2 separate regions of the Homo sapiens genome follow, and region 2 is linked to region 1. The links are contacts of gene promoters, found by promoter capture Hi-C in human tissues and cell types (Jung and others, 2019). All regions are on one chromosome and are shown on one strand. Each heading gives the region's core, a stretch centred on a gene start or on the middle of the fragment in contact. The rest is flanking DNA. Distances are from core to core; before and after follow the strand shown.

Evidence for each region. Contacts are between HindIII fragments. The study calls those that stand out against the background at their distance.
Region 2: a contact is called between a fragment that was not itself captured here and the fragment with the promoter of TMEM156 in region 1, in 1 of the 25 tissues and cell types used here (lymphoblastoid cells).

The regions. Positions count from the first base shown.
Region 1 is chr4:39,030,009-39,035,627 of GRCh38, reverse strand. TMEM156 (transmembrane protein 156) reads left to right here and starts at 3,219. Exons shown (of 7, transcript NM_024943.3): 1 at 3,219-3,402. The coding sequence starts at 3,315. The HindIII fragment of the contact is 30,825 bases long and covers 1-5,619 here.
Region 2 is chr4:39,353,932-39,359,159 of GRCh38, reverse strand. All of the region lies in intron 1 of RFC1 (replication factor C subunit 1), which reads left to right. Among named protein-coding and RNA genes, the nearest start is that of RFC1, 9.8 kb to the left of the region's middle. RefSeq lists an enhancer at 5,016-5,065. The HindIII fragment of the contact is 7,671 bases long and covers 1-5,228 here.

The DNA of each region.
Region 1 (5,619 bases), core at 1,970-4,469:
CATGGAAATAATGATAGTAACTATTTCATAAGGTGGTTACAACAATTAAATGTTACAAATTAGGTTCAGTGTTTACTGCTCAGATGATGGGTGCACCAAAATTTCACAAATCACCACTAAAGAACTTACTCATATAACCTGTTCCCCAAAAATCTATGGAAATAAAAAAAAATTTTTTAAATGATCTAATATAAGTGAAGCGTTTCATGCAGTGGTTCTCAGCTGGGAGCTGTTTTGTCACCCCAGGGACATCTGACAATATCTGGAAACATTTTTTTTCTTTTGTTTGTCAAAACTGGGGCGGGGAGGCCAGGTGTGGTGTTCATGCCTATAATCTCAGCGCTTTGGGAGGTTGAGGTGGGATGATTGCTTGAGGCCAGGGGTTTGAGACCAGCCTGGGTAATATAGTGAGGCCCCATCTCTACAAAAATTTAAAATTAGCCAAGCCCGGTGGCACATGCTTATCGTCCCAACTATTCAGGAGGCTGAGGTGGGAGGATTGCTTGGGCCTGGGAGTTCGAGGCTACAGTGAGCCGTGATCATGCCAGTGCACTCCAGCATAAGTGATAGAGACCCTGTCTTTTAATTTTGTTTTTTTTAATTAAAAAAATAAAAACTGGGGTGGAGAGGGCTGCTACTGGAACCAGCTGTTGAACATCCTACAATGTACAGGATATCCCGCACAACACAGAATGACCTGTCCCAAAATATCAATAGTGCCACCAGTGAGAAACCCTGGGTTAGTGCAGCATCAGGCACATAGTAAAAACTGTATTGGTGTTTGCTATGATTATTATTTTATAAGTGGCCCTTCTTGACAAATGTTCCCACACAGTCTGACAGTGGAGGTATAATGGAGTGTTGGGTTGAGAGTTAGGTTTGACACCTAGCTTCACCCTTTATTAACTATGTGACTTTTGAGCCCTTACTTGACTTCGCTATACCCCATATTCTTTGTCTATCCAATTGGAATAACAGCAACTCCCTGAGAGAGTTGCTGGGGAATTGGATAAAATAATTCATACAAAACATTCAACACTGCAGTAGCACATAGTAAATGTTCAGTAAATGCCATCGATTGTTGCTGCTGCTGTTGATCCAATAAAGACCTTTCCACAGAATATAGTGAAGGGATAGAGGACAGTTTCAACTAGGAAAAAAAATTACTCATATAAAGTATATAAAAGCGTATATTTCGTATATTAATAAATATGTAGAAGTTAAATTTAAACTATCCTTTTTAAGGCTGCTATTTATAATTTTCTAAAAAGTATATTGCTTTTGCTTTCCTAGGGTAGAGCACCTCCTTGATATAAAAGATCCTCTCAATTTTAAACATTTGTATCTAACACAGAATGCATAATTATTTAATTAAGACGTTTGGTCTTGATTAGAAATAGAAACACATTAAAGTATTTTTGAGAACCTGGATCTCAGATATGAAATATAAGACTTAGGAAAGTTAAACACTAGCGTAGTAGCAACAACCTCTTGTGTTTGAGATTCGTTAATCTCTTATTCCTTCATTGAAATAGGAAGGAGAAGCTTGCAGTGGGTAAGTAATTGCAGATTTGTAGCCATTTCTAGCAGTTCCTAGAATCCCCTTTATAATCTAATATTTGTGTTTTTAAAAAATAATCTAATATTTGTAAAAGTGCTTTGGAAATTGTAAAACAAAACTATGGAGATGTGGGCCATTAGTATTATCATCAACCCTAACAGGATGTTAGAGAGTCAGATGTTGCCACTTCAAGGGAGATGACCGAGTTTTGGTGCATTTCAGGAAGCCAAAATCAGGCTGCAAGTAAACTTTGTATTTAAGAATAAATGAGACCGGGCTTGGTGGCTCACGCCTGTAACTGCAGCACTTTGGGAGGCTGAGGTGGGCAGATCACGAGGTCAATAGATCGAGACCATCCTGGCTAACATGGTGAAACCCCGTCTCTACTAAAAATACAAAACATTAGCTGGGCGTGGTGGTGCATGCCTGTAGTCTCAGCTACTCAGGAGGCTGAGGCAGGAGGATCACTTGGATCTGGGAGGCAGAGGTTGCAGTGAGCCAAGATTGCACCACTGCACTCCAGCCTGGAGACAGATTGAGACTCCGTTTCAAAAAACAAAAAACAAAAACAAAAGAATAAATGATTAAATTGATAAACTATACATTATTTCGTGTAATATTAGAAATACAATGAAGAACTGTGTTTCTCTGCATAAAACTTTTAGGTACGTGTTTTATACTCTGTTACAAAATAGTTGGGTGGAAAAACTCCCACCATATACAAAATGAAAAGGCAAATGACAACCTGGGAAAAATGTTTGCAAAACATATGCAAAGATTTCATATTCCCAATAGAGAAAAAAGTCTTATAGATCAACAGGAAGGATATAAATGCTGCAATAAAAGACATGAACATGCAATTAACAAAAGAAATTCAAATTGCCAGCAAATATTAAAAATCTTTAGAATTACTGTCAACCAAACAAATGCAAATTAAACAATACTTTTTTTTCCTTTTAAATTGGCAATGGTTAAAATGTTTCTATCTTCTAGATGTACTATTTTCTGAACACCAGAATTCAGCACAGCACCTGGCACCAAACAGGATCGACAATCATTTAATAAGTAAATGAATGAGTCATGTGCATGCAACCTAGACATGACTGACATTCACCCTTTTATTTCTTTCTCTCTTGAGAAGGGATCTCACTCTGTCACCCAGGCTGGAGTGCAGTGGCCTGTCATGGCTCACTGCAGTCTCAAATTTCTGGGTTCAAGTGATCCTCAGCTTCCTGAGTAGCTGGGACTACAGGAGTGCACCACCACACCTAGCTATATTAAAATTATTTTTGTAGAGAGGAGGGCTTGCTCTATTGACCAGTCTGGACTCAAACTCCTGAACTCAAGTGATCCTTCTGCCTTGGCCTCCCAAAGTGCTGGGATTACAGATGTGAGCCACTTCGCCCAGCCCACCGTTTTATTTTTGTGAGTATACTGTGGGTTTATATTTATAAATTGGGTGGGGAGAAGATCCCCTTGCTTCTTGAGATCATTTATTTACCTTTCTTGCTTAGAAAGACAAATAAATGGTCTGAAAGTGCTTATTTGGGGGGTAGTTTTTTTTTTTAATGGGAAGTGACTCAAAAGTGAAGTCTCAGTTCAAGACCTTTTTTTTTTTTTAAGTCTTACTCAAAAGGAAGTGAGTATGAGGTGAACTGCATTAACCTAAAGTGCTGCAGAGATAAACTTAAAGCAGGAAGCAACATACCATGAATGTACTGCAAGGGAACACATTTGTGTCATGTGAAGAGACATGACAAAAACAGCCCTCCTTAAATTATTTGTGGCAATAGTGATCACATTCATTTTAATTTTGCCGGAATATTTCAAGACACCGAAAGGTGAGTATATAATTGTAATCTAGCTTTCCTTTCTTAATTTAAAAAAATTAGTGTCAGCTAGTGGTTACAGAAAAGATCCTCTTTTTGGACACATGCTGCATAGGCTGAAGTTCTAGATCTGAAAAACTAATAAAACAAGATTGCAATTTTAGTTGACTGTTATATAGTACAGTAACCTAATTCATAGTACTTAATTATCATAGCATACCTAAAAATGAAAATATTTAAAATCTGTAGTCTAGATTTCAGACATTGAGATTACAATAATTGCATCATGATTTTGCTCTTTGAAACACTTTCTTCAAAGCAGTTTTTTTTTATTTTTTTATTTTTTATTTTTTTTTTTTGAGATGGAGTCTCTGTCGCTCAGGCTGGAGTGCAATGGCCTAATCTTGGCTCACTGCAACCTCTGCCTGCCGGATTCAAGCAATTCTCCTGCCTCAGCCTCCGAGTAGCTGGGATTACAGGCGCCCACCACCATGCCTGGCTAATTTTTGTATTTTTAGTAGAGACACGGTTTCACCATGTTGGCCAAACTGGTCTTGAACTCCTGACCTTGTGATCCACCCACCTCGGCCTCCCAAAATGCTGAGATTACAGGCTTGTGCCACTGTGCCTGGCCCAAAGCAGCTTTAAGTATGCTTTTTACATTTTGGAATTCTTTAATGAAGAAAGTGATATTTATTGTGTTAAAAATGCTAGAATTCCCTTTACTACAACTATTTCACACAGATAACTTACCGTCACCTTTTGACAAGAAAAAGCGTTTATATATTTTGAAAATACAATCAAAATAAGGTGAGTGGAAATTTAAACAGATGTATGTGTATGTATTTGTAACTGGAGAAAAATGGAACAAAATTAACTTTGTGAACGTTTCAGAAAATTGTGATATAATTGCTGAAACCTAGATTAGGAAAATAAATAGGTATAAATTTAAACTATTTTGATGTTAGCAAAGGACTTGAAAATTTATTAATGTGAGGTTCAAATGGTAATTGTGCTCCCTAGCATTTAATAAGAAGAAAAGGTGAAAAGAAAAGGCTGTATTCTATCATTAAATAGTCTTTATATGAATTTGATTAAAATCAGAGAAAAACTCATATTTGATTATTTGCTGCAATGAATATTTATTGTTGCATATATGTAATGCTAAATAGCCAGATAAAAATATTTTTGCTAATTATATTTGATGACATATTTCAGTGATTATTTGATGTTGCATTTACATGATGCTAAGTAGCGAGTTAAAAATATTTTTGCTAAATAAACACTATGACTACAATTTGGTTTTCTGGCATTATGTTACTTAGATGAAGCAATCATAGCACATATTTTCAGTGCTTGATTCCACTGGGTGAAAATGTGTTATAAAGAGAATAGTTAGAATAAAGATAATCTATTTTTAAGATATTGTGGGCTGAGAGTAAGCTCATTTAATAGTTATCCGGAGTAGGTTCTATCTATATATCTATCTAGCTAGCTAGCTAGCTATCGATCTACACCTAGCACCTCTTAAAAATCAGGTTGGATCTAATAAAAACCAGGTAATCATCCCAAAAATGACTTAATTAACTATTGGTTAGTATTTTATGAGAACTGGTGACTACAGGAGCATGTTAAAGGTTTTCATTTTGGGGCAGACATGTAGTTCTTTTAGTTTTTGTTTCTCAAAGTGAGAAGCATGGCCTTCTGGGGCAGTGGTGAGCAGAAAGAAGATAGATGAAGCACAGAGAAATTCTTAGTGGGGGACAGATGGGAGCCCCTTCTATTGGTAGGTAGAAGAAAGAGCTCTTATAAAATCCATCTTAGCCAAACTTCCTTGGCCTAATAGTAATGTGTCAGTTCTTCTTCATCTTGTCAATAGTCAACCATCATTTATAATGATGTTTGTTCTCTTGCTTTCAAAACTGGTTATATCAGCTCCCAATACTACCTTTACTGCCTTCCCAAACTTAAAATGGCTGTTTCTCTTCTCCTGGTCCAAGAACAGCATAGATAATGCTCCAAACTCTTTCTGGGTTGATGGGTTGTTTTTTTTTTTTTAAGAGACAGGGTCTTGCTGTGTTGCCTAGGCTGACTCCTGGGCTCAAGCAATCCTCCTGCCTCAGTCCCCAAGCAGCTGGGACTACAGGCACATACCACCACACTCAGGTGGATTTATTGGGGAATTTTGTTTCAAAGGAACCCTACTTGGGGCCAACAAACAAAAATGTT
Region 2 (5,228 bases), core at 846-3,345, 320 kb before region 1:
AGGTTGGATGATTAGGTGGAGGGCCAGAGGGAGGAGGAAAAGCAGTGGCCATGTTTCTGTTTTGGGTGAATGGTGGTGCTATGCATGGAGATGGGGAATAAAGGGAGAGAAGCAGGTCCCAGCTGAAGATAAATTTAGTTGAGGACATTATTAGTTAGAGGCACCTTTGGGAGATTTGCAATGGGATGGATTTGGCTGCATGTTGGCTGCATAAATATGGAATTCAGAGCTGGTCTGGAGAAACAGACACAAGATTTAGGAAGTATCGGTATGTACATAAGTGGTACTGGGGTTAAGTAGGTGTGAGTTAGTTCGCACAGTGTGAGTGTGTGGTTCCGGAGTTTTGACTTGGGGTTCCCAATAGGCTTTAGGGGAAAACCCCTAACATTGGATACAAAGTTTTGTGCATATGTTTGTTTTTTCGTATTTCCGTGGAAAATATGTGTAGCTTTCATCCACAAAAGCATAAAAACAATTGGCATGATTAGTGGGAGAGCACCTGCTTTGTTTCCTTGGCACACATTTTGGCTTATTTTAATAAATGAGCAACTTGTTGCAGGTGTTGACAACTTCCTTCACTAGCATATAAGCTCTGTAAGGGCAGGGGTCACAAGGAGAGGGAACTGCCATATAGCGCGTGGCTCACGGTGCGTTTTCCACAAATATTAGAGGAATGAATAATTACAAGTGAACTTTATATTTCCACTAAAAATACAAATAAACTAGAAGGTAAAACTTCCTGGTATAAAAACATCTCTCGCACTGTTGCATGACTTTATATCTAAGCTATTAAAACACTTAGCGACAAATAATATTGCCTAGAGAAATACAGTTATTTTATTATGTTGTAGGTCTATTTTCAGTTTGGACTTAATTTCTTTTTTTTTGAAACGGAATTTTGCTCTTGGCCAGGCTGGAGTGCAATGGTGCGATCTCAGCTCACTGCAACCTCTGCCTCCCAGGTTGAAGTGATTCTCCTGTCTCAGCCTCCCTAGTAGCTGGGATTACAGGTGTGCACCACCATGCCTGGCTATTTTTGTATTTTTAAGTAGAGACAGGGTTTCTCCATGTTGGTCAGGCTGGTCTCGAACTCCCAACCTCAGGTGATCCACCCGCCTTGGCCTCCCAAAGTGCTGGGATTACAGGTGTGAGCCACTGCGCTTGGCCCAGTTGGACTTTATTTCTGTGTTCATTTAAGTAGTTTAAATTTGATTTTTTTGGCTCAGAAGTCAGTTGTAAAAAGCTAGCTTCTGGGCCGGGCGCTGTGGCTCATGCCTGTAATCCTGGCACTTTGGGAGGTGGATCATGAGGTCAGGAGTTTGAGACCAGCCTGGCCAACATAGTGAAACCCTGTCCCTACTAAAAATACAGAAAAATTAGCTGGGTATGGTGATGGGCACCTGTAATCCCAGCTACTTGGGAGGCTGAGGCAGGACAACTGCATGAACCTGGGAGTTGGAGGTTGCAGTGAGCTGAAATCGCCCCACTGCACTCCAGCCTGGGCGACAGTGCAAGACTCTGTCTCAAGGGAAAAAAAAAAAAAAGTTAGCTCCTGGATGAATAAAAACCATAATCGGAGTACATTAGCCCTGGTGAAAATGTCAAAATTCTGAAATAAACCATTAGATCAGGCATAAACAGTCTCAAATGCTTTAGTTATCCCAGTTATGCAGGTATGAAAAGATGCTTTTTAAACTTAAATTAGATAATTATTTCCATTTGCTATTTTAATATGCCTGTGTTGATTTGTATTTTTGGATCAGGTACCTGGAAACTTCTGTGATAGAGTATTTCATTGAATGCGTAGTCTAAAGCTCAATGATAGTAAATATTATGACTTCAGAATCTTATTCTTCCCTCTTGCCACAACAGCAGTAGAAATGGGTCTTTTTGCTGTCATGGGAGTGGCCTCTCAGGTAGACTTAACAGATACTGGGGTGAGTAGGGGAAGTAGTTTCTATTCTCTATTTCTGTTCCCTCAGTGTGCTTTATTTCTTCTGTTCTTTCTTTTCTGTGCTCTGCTTTGTTTTCTAAAGATGGATTAAAGAAAGATTAGGAACAGAAAGTAGAATGAAAGCTTCACAAGAACAGAGACCTAGCCTGTTTTGTTTATCCCAAGCATCAAAAATAGTTCTTGGTCCATAAAAGGCTCTGAGTAAATATTTCTTGAATGGATAAATGAATGATTGAATGAAAAAAGTTGATGCGGGCTCTTAAAATTCTTCCTAGCTAGAACTTGTTACTGTTCAAAAGTTTTTCAGACCACACTTATATTTCACTCACCAGTGTTTTCCTCAGAGAAGTTTTTGAGACCCATGCTAGACTGTTAAATTAGTAACATCAATTATAAATCTAGAGATATTTCTGATTTCTTTAAAAAAGTTATTAGTTTGACTTAAAATAAATTTTAAAGAAGAGGAAATGTCCTACTAAAAGTGAAAGTATATTTTTGTTTTTTGTAGCCACAATGTTTTAATATGAGAGTAACAGAAAATCAATTATAGAAACTCAGTTTTATTAACTTAGCTCAGAAATAATATATAATCAGCATTAATTTAATACCTTCTTAAAATTTCTTAGGTAAAGTCATAGCACAAAGTTAATCCCAATTAAAAGATTCTTTTAATACATAATCTTTAAAAACAAATCTACCATTTATTTTGGTTTACATAATCAAGAACCTCTCTTTCTGAGTGCAGTTGTGAAGGTCAGTGGCCTGAGGAATAACCGTTCATGTGTTCAATGAATTTTTTTGTTTTTAAGACGGAGTTTTGCACTTTTTCCCCAGGCTGGAGTGCAGTGGCGTGATCTTGGTCCACTGCACCCTCCACTTCCCGGGCTCAAGCCGTTCTCCTGCCTCAGCCTCCTGAGTAGCTGGGATTACAGGCACGTACCACCAAGCTCGGCTAATTTTTGTATTTTTAGTAGAGATGGGGTTTTGCCATGTTGGCCAGGCCAGTCTGGAACTCCTGACCTCGTAATCCACCCGCCTCGGCCTCCCAAAGTGCTGGGATTACAGGTGTGAGCCATCACGCCCTGCCTACCATTTCTTTTAGAAATGAAATTACTGGGCAAAGGGTATGTACCTTTAAAATTTTGGTAAGTGTGGCTAGATTGCCTTCCATAAAGGTTATACCAGTGTTTTTTTTTTTTTTTTTTGAGGTGAAGTCTCGCTCTGTCACCAGGCTGGAGTGCAGTGGCATGATCTCGGCTCACTGCAGCCTCCACCTCCCGGGTTCAAGCGGTTTTCCTGCCTCAGCTTCCCAAGTAGCTGGGACTACAGGTGTGTGCCACCATGCCCAGCTAATTTTTGTATTTTTAGTAGAGATGGGGTTTCACCATGTCGGCCAGGATGGTCTCGATCTCTTGACCTCGTGATCCACTCACCTCGGCCTCCCAAAGTGCTGGTATTACAGGGGTTAGCCATTGCGCCCAGCCAAGGTTATACCAGTTTTCACTTTTATCAGCAGTATAGTGCGTGAGCATCTGTTTCCCCACATCCTTGACAGATATGGGCATTATCAGTCTTCTAAAACTTAGGGGAAAATGATCAAGTTTTAACTTATCTGCTTATTTGTGACATCTAGCATTTTTTATGTGTGTTGGCTATTTGCATTTCTTTTATACTTTGCCTATTAGGAGCTTTTATTTATTTTTTCTATTGGTTAGGTTATCTTTTATTGATTTGTAGGAACCCTTTTACAAGTTTTGTGTGTGTGTGTGTTTTAAGATAGGTTATTGCTCTGTTGCCCAGGCTGGAGTACAGTGGTGTGATGGTCATGGCTCACTGCAGCCTCAAACTCTTGGCGCGCAAGTGCCACCCCAGCCTCCTGAGTAGCTGGGACTACAGGCATGCAGGCATGTGTCACTACACTAGGCTGATTTTTTTTTTTTTATTTGTAGAGATGGGGGTCTCCCTGTGTTGCCCTGGCTGGTATTAAACTCTTGGGCTCAAATGATCCTCCCGCCTTGGCCTCTCAAAGTGTTGGGATTACAGGTGTGAGCCACCACACCTGGCCTGTTGTGTGTGTGTGTGTGTGTGTGTGTGTGTGTGTGTGTGTATTTTTTTTTTTTTTTTTGAGATGAGTGTCGCTCTGTCGCCCAGACTGGAGTGCAAAGGGGCATTCTTGGCTTACTGCAACATCTGCCTCCCAGGTTCAAGCGATTCTTGTGCCTCAGCCCCCTGAGTAGCTAGGATTACAGGTGTGCACCACCACACATGGCCAATTTTTGTATTTTTAGTGGAGATGGGGTTTTGCTGTATTGGCCAGGCTGGTCTCAAACTGCTGGTCTCAAGCAGTCCAACTGCCTCGGCCTCCAAAGTGCCGGGATTACAGGCGTGAGCCACTGTGTCCAGCCTGTTGTAGATGTTTTTAAGTTAGTTGCTTTTTTTTTTTTTTTTTTTTTTTTGAGATAGTTTCACTATGTTGTCCAGGCTGAACTTGAACTCCTGGGTTCAAGCAATCCTCTTGTCTCAGCCTGTCTGGTACCTGGGACTGTAGGTGTGCACCACAGTGCCCAGCTCTGTTGCTTGCATTTTAACTTTGTTTATGGCACTTTTTGTGTAGTAAAATCTGCCTTTCTTTAGGGATGGTTTCTGGCCTTGATGTTCTGCTTTGAGGGACTTCTACTTGCCAAGATTGAAAAATAAATTTAAATATTTGTTCCTTTCTCCACTCATATGCTCAACAAGAATTATTCTGTGCAGGCAAGAGAAGTGTTTAGATTCATTATTTGGGAGTTAGACTTGTTTTTCTGCATTTCATGAAGTCTTTGAAGGTCTAGAACACTGGACAGCAAATGTTAATTGGAACAGTCAGGTGAAGTCACGTGCTATAAATTAAGGACAAATTGCTGACCTTTGCCTCTTAGATGTTTATACCTCAGATGGCTGCTCACACTGGAGATAGTTCTAAAAAAGTATGAGTAGAATGGCTTCCATTCTGATGAAAATTATTTTCTAAAAGCTTTGATTTTTAGTGTATACTGAGTTAGGTTACGATGCTGCAATTTCTTTAACTCTTACGTTGCCATCAGAGTGTGGGGGAGTTTAGGGGAGTAGGGTAAAGTAATGCAAAGGGAAAGAAAGGAGGATGTGAGTGGAAATAATTACGTAGGGAGGAAATGGTGTAACAGTGCTAAGGAGTGGCAGTGCAGATTTTTGTACAGACAAAAACCAGACAGATCAGTGTTAACAGTGGCTCTGTTTCCTGAATTACATTTTGTTT